3 separate regions of the Homo sapiens genome follow, and regions 2 and 3 are each linked to region 1. The links are contacts of gene promoters, found by promoter capture Hi-C in blood cells and fetal thymus (Javierre and others, 2016). All regions are on one chromosome and are shown on one strand. The core of a region is centred on a gene start or on the middle of the fragment in contact, and the rest is flanking DNA. Distances in the headings are between cores, read along the strand shown.

Evidence for each region. The method cuts DNA at HindIII sites, captures the fragments that hold promoters and counts their contacts. A CHiCAGO score of 5 or more calls a contact.
Region 2: a contact is called between a fragment that was not itself captured here and the fragment with the promoter of GATM in region 1, in 3 of 17 cell types (M1 macrophages, M2 macrophages and M0 macrophages). The highest score is 6.6, in M1 macrophages.
Region 3: a fragment that was not itself captured here is called in contact with the fragment with the promoter of GATM in region 1 in 1 of 17 cell types (naive B cells); the score reaches 5.2 in naive B cells.

Annotation. Positions count from the first base shown.
Region 1 is chr15:45,376,428-45,379,878 of GRCh38, reverse strand. GATM (glycine amidinotransferase) reads left to right here and starts at 1,335. Exons shown (of 9, transcript NM_001482.3): 1 at 1,335-1,494; 2 at 3,060-3,278. The coding sequence starts at 1,426. RefSeq lists an enhancer at 987-1,066 and a silencer at 1,207-1,536. The HindIII fragment of the contact is 1,395 bases long and covers 437-1,831 here.
Region 2 is chr15:45,302,469-45,306,362 of GRCh38, reverse strand. No RefSeq gene overlaps it. Among named protein-coding and RNA genes, the nearest start is that of SLC28A2-AS1, 25 kb to the right of the region's middle. The HindIII fragment of the contact is 1,249 bases long and covers 1,026-2,274 here.
Region 3 is chr15:45,282,651-45,286,057 of GRCh38, reverse strand. No RefSeq gene overlaps it. Among named protein-coding and RNA genes, the nearest start is that of SLC28A2-AS1, 5.1 kb to the right of the region's middle. The HindIII fragment of the contact is 3,162 bases long and covers 385-3,407 here.

The sequences.
Region 1 (3,451 bases), core at 86-2,585:
AAGTGCTGGGATTACAAGCATGAGCCACCGCGCCCGACCTAGTTTTTGTATTTTTAGTAGACAGGGTTTCATCATGTTGACCAGGATAGTCTCAAACTCCTGACCTCAGGCAATCCGCCTGCCTCGGCCTTCCCAATTGCTGGGATTACAGGCGTGAGCCACTGCACCCGGCCTCATACAGCTCTAATGCCACGCATCAAGTTCTGCATGTACAATCTCTCATTTTGGCCTCTCAGCAACCCCCCATGTGCTAGGGACAGTAAATTCTATTGTTCTCACTTTGCAGATAAGAAGACTGCAATTCAGGAAGACATATAGTAGTCTATAAGTGATTCAGGACTGGAACTCAGTTATCCTAATTCCCTCTCGGAGGCTCTTTCCACCATGCCATCTGCTCGTCTGGTGCTTTCCATCCATGAACTCTGGAAAACAAGCTTGAGATACCAAAATTGAAAAGACAGCTCATCAAAAATGAATAGTTATAATTCTATAAGTACAAAAATGAAATACTCAAATCTCTTGCCCCCCCTCCTGCTAGGAGCATAAATGTTAACCTGAGTTCTCTAGCTCTGTACAAATCCACAGCAATTAAGACTGCACTGTGAGGGAAAATACTTTTCTAAAAAAGAATCCTGATCAAGTTGAAACAAAAATTTTAAAACATGAAATGGAAGGAACGAAACTGTCGTCCTCCCTTATTTCTGACCCACACTTGTCGATTTTCATGACGGAGTTTCTCAAGCCAGGGGCATATGGCCAAAGACCATGTGAAATGCCAGGTGTTCCAAATAACAACCGACGGGGTACTGGAAGGAAAGCACTGCCTCCCCGGGGAACAAATGGCCCAATTTCCAGACTTAGTTTTCTGCAGTCTCAAACCCGATGTTGCACCAAGAAACCACCTAATCTTTAGGTGGTTTCGTTTACCGAAAAATGAGGTGACTGGTTCAGTGCGCATATGTGAATTTAAGGGTAACACTGTACTCACGCTTTGCATATTTAAATTCTCAAATATTCACTTAATATATGCATAGACCATTGTCACTTCGTCAGAAGTCGCGTCCTGCCCAGTTGCGCGAGACTCCAACGGGCCTTCTTGCGACGCTCGGGTCTGGGTCCGGGTCCGGACGTGCAACAGAAGCCGTCAGTGGCCCCGCTGGCTAAAAAAGGGCAAGCATCGGAGGCTCGAGCCAGCGGCCGCGGCGCTTCCCGACAGTTCCTAATTCGGGGCGCTACGCCGGCCCCACCACCTGTTCCCGGCAGCCAATGGGGCCGCGGGGGGCGGCCGGGGCGGAGCGCGGCTACAAAAGGCCTCGGGCCCCGCGCGCCCGCCCACCCCGCTCCGGGCGCGCTCTCGGGAAGGCTTGGACCGACGCGGCCCAGAGGCCAGGAACATTCCGCGCGTGGACCAGCCGGGCCAGGGCGATGCTGCGGGTGCGGTGTCTGCGCGGCGGGAGCCGCGGCGCCGAGGCGGTGCACTACATCGGATCTCGGGTGCGTGCGCCACCGGCCTCGTCTGGCGGCCGCGTGACTCACTCGATCCTGCGGGCGGCGTGGAGCACTCGCTCGCTCCCTGCCCGGAGCCGCCACCTTCCCTCGCTTTCCCTAGCCGGAATTGCACGAGAGTGTCCCTTCTGGTATCCCTGGGAAGCTCAGCTTCAAGAGCCTTCGCAGGCTCCAGGAGCTGGGCGGCGTCCCCCAGTCAGGGGGAACTTGCGTTGCGGCTCCAGCCCTTGGGGTCCACTTGCTGTCTGCGCGTCCGCGGCCTGCTGGCCCACGGCGCAGGGGGCGCCGCCCCCCTCTACCGGACCTTGGTGCGCTGCACCAAGCTTCCCGCTCGGAGCAAGGGGTTGGGACGACGGAGGCTCCTCTTAGTAAAAGGGTGGCGTTATTGGGGTTCAGTAGCCTGAGTGGGCGTCGAGTTGGGGAGATTTCTGGAAAATGCGTGTGGGGTAGATGGATGGGGAGAAGAGGCAAGCAAAGTGGGAATCGGGGACGGGGAGCGAGCGACCAGATTCACTCCAAGTATAACATGGGATCCCACGTCTGGAGAGGAGTCGGGGCGAGTGCAGCCTGTAAGCAGAGTTTCTGCGCTCCCCGCCCTCGGCTGCCCTGGCAGCAGACCCTCCCATGCTTCTAGTACTGGAATCGCTCCGACATTCTGGCTTCCTCCCAGCAACTGGTTCCTGAACAGCTGTCATTCTCCGTCTTTCTTCTGCCTCCACCCGAGTTCTCCTCCTGCCCACTTCCTAAGGCTTTTAACAGAGCAGGATAGAGATTTGGGGGGTTGAGGTTTGCTCAGGGGTTGAGGGACCCTCCCTGCTCTAGATTTTATAGGCCATGCATTTTTAAAAGGCTTTTGAAGTTTTTAGATCTCCTTCTTATTTGTTTGAATTTACGCCTGAGCTAATCCTGACCTTGGCTAGGGTACTGTGGACCATCTGTAAAATGGAGCAGATGGCAGTTGCTCACTCTCAGAATTGAAGTGCCAAAGAATGCGAAGTGTATGTCAAAGATGAAAAAAATTTGATTTGAAGCTGGTTATTCTGAAAGATAAGGTCCTTTACAAATGTTCCCAACTTTTCATTTGTAAAAAAAAATAAATAAAAAGCCTAATATTGGTAACCTTTGATACTTAAGGGAAAAGGAGGTTCCGTCCCCAGCTGAGACTGGCGGGAAGTTTTAGAGCAGCTGTCTATGGTTTTCTGAGAGGAGGACTGACCCATCTGCAAAACAGTTGCTTAAAGCTTGAGTGCAGGAATTGCATTCTGAGATAAAGATGGGGGTGTATGGTAGCTGGGGACACGGTCTTCTGAGGAGTTTTAAAGAGTTACAGCAATTAATAGATAAGAAGACAATTTGTAGATAAACAAGAGGGTTAAAAAAATTATCTGTAATCCCACTACCCACCTACACACTGTTAACGTCTTGGTTTATGCTGTTCTAAAGGGGTTTAAGTGGCAATGTTATGCTGGATTTTTACTCCATCTCCACTTCCTCCTCTCTGTAAGTACTGATAGAGCAATGCAATACAATAATCTTTTCTTTGTTCTTGGAAGCTTGGACGAACCTTGACAGGATGGGTGCAGCGAACTTTCCAGAGCACCCAGGCAGCTACGGCTTCCTCCCGGAACTCCTGTGCAGCTGACGACAAAGCCACTGAGCCTCTGCCCAAGGACTGCCCTGTCTCTTCTTACAACGAATGGGACCCCTTAGAGGAAGTGATAGTGGGCAGAGCAGAAAACGCCTGTGTTCCACCGTTCACCATCGAGGTGAAGGTAAAGGAAGGCTATTCACATGTCTGAAAGTGCGCTCCCTCCTCACCTGCTGCTGCTACCCTCTGACTGCTTTCCCTTCAGCTTACTCCCAGACCTCTCAATCCAGTGATTAAGTTATCTTACTTGACACCTCTGTGGTATTTGACACTATTTACACCAATGATAATTGCTTC
Region 2 (3,894 bases), core at 401-2,900, 74 kb after region 1:
GTAAACTGTCACTTGATGATATCTATTGGTAAATCGGACAGTTTGATGTTTATTTTAACAGTTTCTGGGGGAAATAAATCCCAGAATAAACAAAGTTATTTGCTTCTTTTATTGCCTCATGAAAGAGGTCCCTTTTATAATAAAGTTTTATTTGTGAAGAGACTGAAAGAGTAATGTCTTGTAAATTTAAACAGTAAACTATGTGGTTTCAGTCCTCAGAAACCACTTTATTTTCCTCGTCTTATTTTCCTTCCCTTCTGTTGAATTTTTTTTTTCTACTATAGCATTTTCCACTTACAGGAGTCTCTTTTCTTCTCAATTCTCCTTTTTAAAGCCTCCTTTCTTTGGGGAAAGGGGAGATATGATATCTTTTCCTAGCAACAGGAACAGACAGTAGGTATTTTTTAAACACATTTTCCTGCCAACTCCATTGCTTTGATTTCCTCTGAGTTCCATTTTGTTCATTCTGTCCTTCATGCTGGAGAAATTCCTTTATTGTCTGAAGGTGATCCTTTATAGGACAGTGACTAATCATAGGCATAAAGTATCAGTTAAACAAGATGAATAAGCTCTAGAGATCTGCAGCATGACAATGTGCCTATAGACAACAAAAACATATTGCACACCTAACAATGTGTTAATAGGGTAGATTTCATGTTCAGTGTTCTTACCACGATAAATTAAACTAAAAGAAAGAACAGTGAGACCAATACCAGAGGTGAGGCAGAGTAGGAGGTTGGGCTGATCAGTGTAGAATGATCTTATTAAGCTTGGAAGGTTTTCCCTGCTCTTGGGGTGGAACATTTTCCCAAAGAGGAATTTTCCAGTTTCCTGTGGGTTGAAGAGGGTAAGCTGGTTGCAGAATTCTCAGAACCGAGTTGGAGAAGGGAGCTAGGTTGTCACTGTCTAATATTGGCTTTCGTTTAAGTCCCATTTTCTGTAAAGTATCCCTACCCTCAACTATGGCTTTTTTTTCAGTCATTTTTCCCCTTTCAGAGATACCTACCACCTCTAATACCCAAGCTTTTCTGGAGTTCTGGGAATTGGCTTGCTCTGAGTTTTTTTCATTAATAGTTTAATGGGTTATCACTCTGCTAGGTCAGTTTCCACCTTTCCATCGGCTTTACAACTCTTGAAGTGTAGTCACTGTCATCTTCTTACCCAGTTTTTTTGTCCTTGTTGGTTTATGCATTTTGAATATATTGACATTTTAGAAGGCTTTGGCTAGGCATCAGCGACAAGTGAATGTGCTCATTCGACCACATTTAACCAGGAGTCTGCATTATATTCCTAAGATCCCCTCCAACTTCTAATTCTGTGATTTTAAATACATTTTAATTAAGGCAAGAGTGAGTACATAATTAGATACAAAGCTGGAGAGATTACGATTTCACGCAAATGAGATGGAAAAAGAGAGGTAATTAGCTTTAGCTTTTCAATAATCAGTCTAGGGGAAACTTCATGGAAGAGGTATTTTAATAACTGAACCTGAACCCTTTCTCTCTTTCTCCCTTAAGAGCAGCATGGATGAACCAAAGACAAGTTGAGGTAGCCTGCAGCAATTTTGATCTTGATCCAGACTGCAAAAACAAATTACCATCAAGATTTAGGAAGGAAGAAGAGACAATATTTAAAAAAACCTGAAAATTCCACAGGGAGAAACTGCATGTGCCTGACTAAGGCAATGCTAATAGGAATAGAAAGAAAGCATGGATAGATATTTACATGACATGATTTTGCATTTTTTAAAGTAATGAATCAAGGGCTGGGCGTGGTAGCTCACACCTGTAATCCCAGAACTTTGGGAGGCCGAGGCAGAGGATCACTTGAGGCCCAGAGTTCAAGACCAGCCTGGGTGACATACAGAGACTCCATCTCTACAAAAAACTTAAAAATTCGCTGGACATGGTGGTGCACGCCTGTAGTCCTAGCTACTTGGGAGGTTGAGGGGGAAGGCTTGCTTGAGCCCAGGAGTTTGAGTCTGCTATGAGCTATGACTGTGCTGCTGCCCTCTCGCCTAGGCAACAGAGCAAGACCCTGACTCTAAAATTTAAAAATACATAAAAATAAATAATGAATAAAAATTGGTAAATTAATAAGTTTACTGAATACCTATATTATAAGTAAAGAGGACACTGTACTAGATGTAATAAGAAAGAGAAAAAAGAATTGTGCTCAGAAGTTGGTGATATTCTTAAATAATAAATATTTTTGATATTGTTGGGTAATTTATGACTTGAGAACGATTACAAAGTGACAAGTTAATGAAAAGCTTAGAAGATTTCAGTACAAATTAATAGTGGACATGCAAGAATGATTCAAAAAGGAACTTAAGAAAACAGTCTCATTTATAATAGCATCCAAAAGAATAAAATATCTAGGAATAAATTTAACTAAGGAGGTGAAAGCCTTGTGCATTGAAAACTACAATACATTGCTGGAAGAAAGTTAAGAAGACATCAATAAATGAAAAGATATCTCATATTCATCTATTGGAAATTGGAATATTTAATATTGTTAAGACAGCAATGCTACCCAAAGTGATCTACATATTCAATGCAATTCCTATAAAAATTCCAATGCCTTTTTTTTTCTTGCAGAAATGGAAAAGTAGATCCTCTCAAATTCATAGGGAATTGCAAGGGGCCCTGATTATCTAAAATAATATCAAAAAAATAACAAAGTTGGAAGACTCATAGTTTCCAATTTCAAAACTTACTACATAGCTACAGTGATCAAAACAGTGTGAGGTATTGGCATAAGGACAGAGATAAACATCAATGGAATAGAATTGAGAGACCAGAAGTAAACCCATACATCTATGGACAATTGATTTTCAACAAGGGTGACAAGACCATTTGATGGGGAAGAAGTAATCTTTTCAACAAATGGTTCTGGGAAAACTGGATATCCACATCCAAAAGAATGACACTTTTTGGACCCCTACCTCACACCATATACAAAAAGTAACTCAAAATGGATCAAAAGTAACTCAAAATGGATCAAAAAAAAAAAAAAAAAAGACTGGATGTGGTGGCTCACATCTGTAAATCCCAGCACTTTGGGAGGCTGAGGCAGGTGGATCACCTGAGGTCAGGAGTTCAAGACCAGCCTGGCCAACATGGTGAAACCCTGTCTCTACTAAAAATACAAAAATTAGCCGGCATGCTGGTGAATGCCTGTAATCCCAGCTACTTGGGAGGCTGAGGCAGGAGAATAGCTTGAACCCAGGAAGCAGAGAGGCTGCAGTGAGCTGAGATCACGCCATCATGCTCTATCCTGGGCAACAGAGCCAGAGCGAGACTCTGCCTCAAAAAAAAAAAAAAAAAACCTAAATGTAGAAACAAAAACTACTAAACTCTTAGAAAAAAGGATCAAGGTAAATTTTTATCAGTTTGGATTTGGCAATGAATTCTTAGATATGGCACCAAAAGCACAAGCAATAAGAGAAAAAAATAGGTAAAATGGACTGTGTCCAAATTTAAAACTTTTATGTCAGGACATTACCAAGAAAGTGAAAAGACAACCTAAAGAATGGGACATTTGCAACTCATATATTTGCTAAGTGCCTGGTATCAAAAATATATTTTTTAAAACTCTTACAGCTCAACAGAAAAAAACAAGCAACTCAGTTTAAAAATGGGCAGAGTGCTTAAGTAGATATTTCTTCAAAGAAGATATACCAGTGAGCAACAACCACATAAAAAGATGCTCAATGTCATTCGTCATTAGGGAAATGTAAATCAAAACCACAATGAGATACCACTTCAAACCCACTAGGATTGCTATAATTAGAAAACCAAAACCAAACAACAACAACAACAACAACAAAAAGAAAACAGTAAGTATTGCTAAGGAATTAGAGAAATTGGAACTCTTGTACATTGCTGATGG
Region 3 (3,407 bases), core at 716-3,215, 94 kb after region 1:
TTGTTGCCAAAAATATTTATGGGTCAAGGCACCTTGATTGTCGTACTGGCATTGCTGCCCATTATGGTAATTGTATTTACCTTTGCTCTGTTAGTTGAGTGTTATTTGGCTTCTGGTATTCTGGAATTCCATCAACCCTTTTGATACTAGAGATCCGTGTTCCATGGCAGTATCCCCCACTCTTGGCCTTGACAGGGCTCCTTTCACCAATGTATTTCTTATTCCTTAGTATAAGGAAGTTCCCTGGGCTCTTGGAGTATATAGACAGGTGGCGGGTTAGCAGGTCTTAATACATAGTAAATATATTCTAACGTTCTCATTTTCCTATGACTTTTGATCCCTTCTCCAGTACAATGCCAAGATTATTTCTGGTGTGTCCAAGCTTCAAGGAAACAGCACAACAAACTATTTATAGTGACCTCAAGTGCTCTTGCCAAAACACTGGATAACCACTCATGAATGTATGCCCTCAGGTAATGAATTCTCTCTTATAAAACCTTATTTTATGCACTCACTCTCTCTCTCTCCCCAGTCTTACATTTTCAAGATCTACTCCCACCTACATTACCCTGATTCTGTTGACAAAGAGTCAAACTCTGTAAAATATTTTAAGAGGTTTATTCTGAGCCAAATATGAGTGATCATGGCCTGTGACACAGCCCTCAGGAGGTCCTAAGAACACGTACCCAAGGTGGTTGGGGTACAGCTTGGTTTTATATATTTTTAGGGGGGCATGATACATCAATCAAATACATTTAAGAAATATATTGGGCTGGGCATGGTGGCTCATGCCTGTAATCCCAACACTATGGGAGGCTGAGGCGGGCAGAACACCTGAGGTCAGGAGTTTGAGACCAGCCTGACCAACATGGCAAAACCCCAGCTCTACTAAATATACAAAAATTAGCCAGGCTTGGTGGCGTGCACCTGTAATCCCAGCTACTTGGGAGGCTGAGGCAGGAGAATCGCTTGAACCCAGGAGGCTGAGGCTGCAGTGAGCTGTGATCACGCCACTGCACTCCAGCCTGGGTGACAGAGCAAAACTCCATCTCAAAAAAAAAAAAAAAAGAAAGAAAGAAAATAAAATAAAATACATTGGTTTGGTTCAGAATGGTGGGACAACTCAAACCGGGGGCTTCAGGGTATAGGTAGATTTAAACATTTTCTGGTTGACAATTGGTTGAGTTTATCTGAAGACCTGGGATTAATGGAAAGGAATGTTCAGGTTAAGAAAGAGGATTATGGAGAGACCAAGTTTTATTGTGCAGATAGCAGACTTCAGAGAGAGAGCAGGTTATAAAATGTTTCTTATCAGACCTAAAAGGGTGTCTGGCTCTTAGTTGATTATCTCCTGGATCTGGAAAGAAAGGAAAGAAAACAAAGGGGGAAGGGGATTCTCTACAGGATATGTATTTTTCCCACAAGAGACTTTGTAGGGCAATTTCAAGGTATAGCAAGGAAATATATTTTGGGGTTAAATATTTCTTCCTTGTCTCAATGTTATGCCAGAGTGATTGAAAAGTAAGTCACGATATATAGGGTCAAACAAAACCCATCTGATGAGAATTTATGGTTTGTAGGACATGACTCCCTAGACCCCTTAGGTAGGAATTTGGGCAGATAAAAAAATTAGAGTTTAGTCCTCAGTTCTTACATATTCTCCAGGTCCTACAGTTCCTTTGGAATGGAGGCTAACTCCTTCTGGAGCAGGACCTGTACTTCCCTGCTCAGGCTGTGCTGAGCTCTGGCACAGATTACCAGACTGGAGGCAAAAAAGGCAGAGAATGGAGGCTTATCTTGGGAAGAACGAAAGTTATTCTGCAATGACCTATTTTGGATGGGCAAGGGGAGGCTGTTTTCCTTAGTCAAGAGAAAAGGGTTTTGCTGACAGCATTATAAATAAATAAATAAGAAAGAAAAGGGACTGCTTCTGCTGGCCAGGAAGATTTAGGGACAATTAGGAGCTCCAGATTTTGAGGCTCATCCACTCACATATTTTATTTATTTATTTATTTATTTTTGAGATAGCGTCTTGCTCTGTCACCCAGGCTGGAATGCAGTGGCATGATCATGGCTCACTGCAGCCCCAACCTCCCGGCTTCAAGCGATCCTCCTGCCTCAGCCTCCCAAGCAGCTGGGACCACACCTGGCTATTTTTTTTTTTAATTTTTTTGTACAGACGGGGTCCACTATGTTGCCCAGGCTGGCCCTGAACTTGTAGGCTCAAGCAATCCTCCTGCCTCTGCCTCCCAAAGTGCTGAGATTACAGGCGTGAGCCACGGTGCCCGGCCAGGGAATCTTGTTAACATGCATATTCTGATTCAGTGGGTCTGGGGCGAGGCCTGAGACTCTGCATGTCTAGCAGGTGATGCTGATGCCTTGGGTTCACTGGTCACTCTGCCACTCACATATTTCTTATTCAGGTCTTAACGCCTCACATTTTTCTTTTCTGGAAAATACCTCCACATGGGAAAGCTGTTGAAGCTATGCATTCAATACCTTTAGCAGCTTTGCCATTCTGGATCCTGAACCTAATTTCTTTTCTTTTCTTTTTATTTATTGTTTTTTTTTTTGAGTCAGAGTTTCCCTCCTGTAGCCCAGGCTGGGGTGCAATGGCACAATCTTGGCTCACTGCAATCTCTGTCTCCCGGTTCAGGTGATTCTCCTGCCTCAGCCTCCCCAACAGCTGGGATTACAGGTGTGCACCATCATGTTCAGCTAGTTTTGTATTTTTAGTAGAGACAGGGTTTTGCCATGTTGGCCAGGTTGCTCTTAAACTCCTGACCTCAGGTGATCCACCCACCTCGACCTCCCAAAGTGCTGGGATTACAGGTGTGAGCCACTGCACCCAGCCCTGAACCTAATTTTTTTAAATTTTTTAAAATTATACTTTAAGTTCTAGGGTACATGTGCACAATGTGCAGGTTTGTTACATATGCTTACATGTGCCATGTTGGTGTGCTGAACCCATTAACTCATCATTTACATTAGGTATATCTCCTAATGCTATCCCTCCCCCCTCCCCCAACCCCACTACAGGCCCCGGTGTGTGATGTTCCCCACCCTGTGTCCAAGTGTTCTCATTGTTTTCAACAGTGTCTAACCTACTGCTGCAAGAGATGAGTCTCCTTTATGGCTGCCACAGAACTCCTCTGGCTTTCATATTGTTACTTAGTTGGCAATATGCTGCTTTAAACTATCATTTTCTTTTTCCAAGACTTCCAATGCTCTCAAGAGCAGCCAGTCTATTCTCCACTCTGTGCCGTTATTATTGCTCCCATACTGATCAAATACAGCAGCCACATAATATCCTAATTCCTTATCTTCTATCTGCACCTCATCCCAGTCAACTGGAGGTGAAAGCCTTAGTAATTGTCATGCATGCCCCTGCATGGCAGGGTTATACT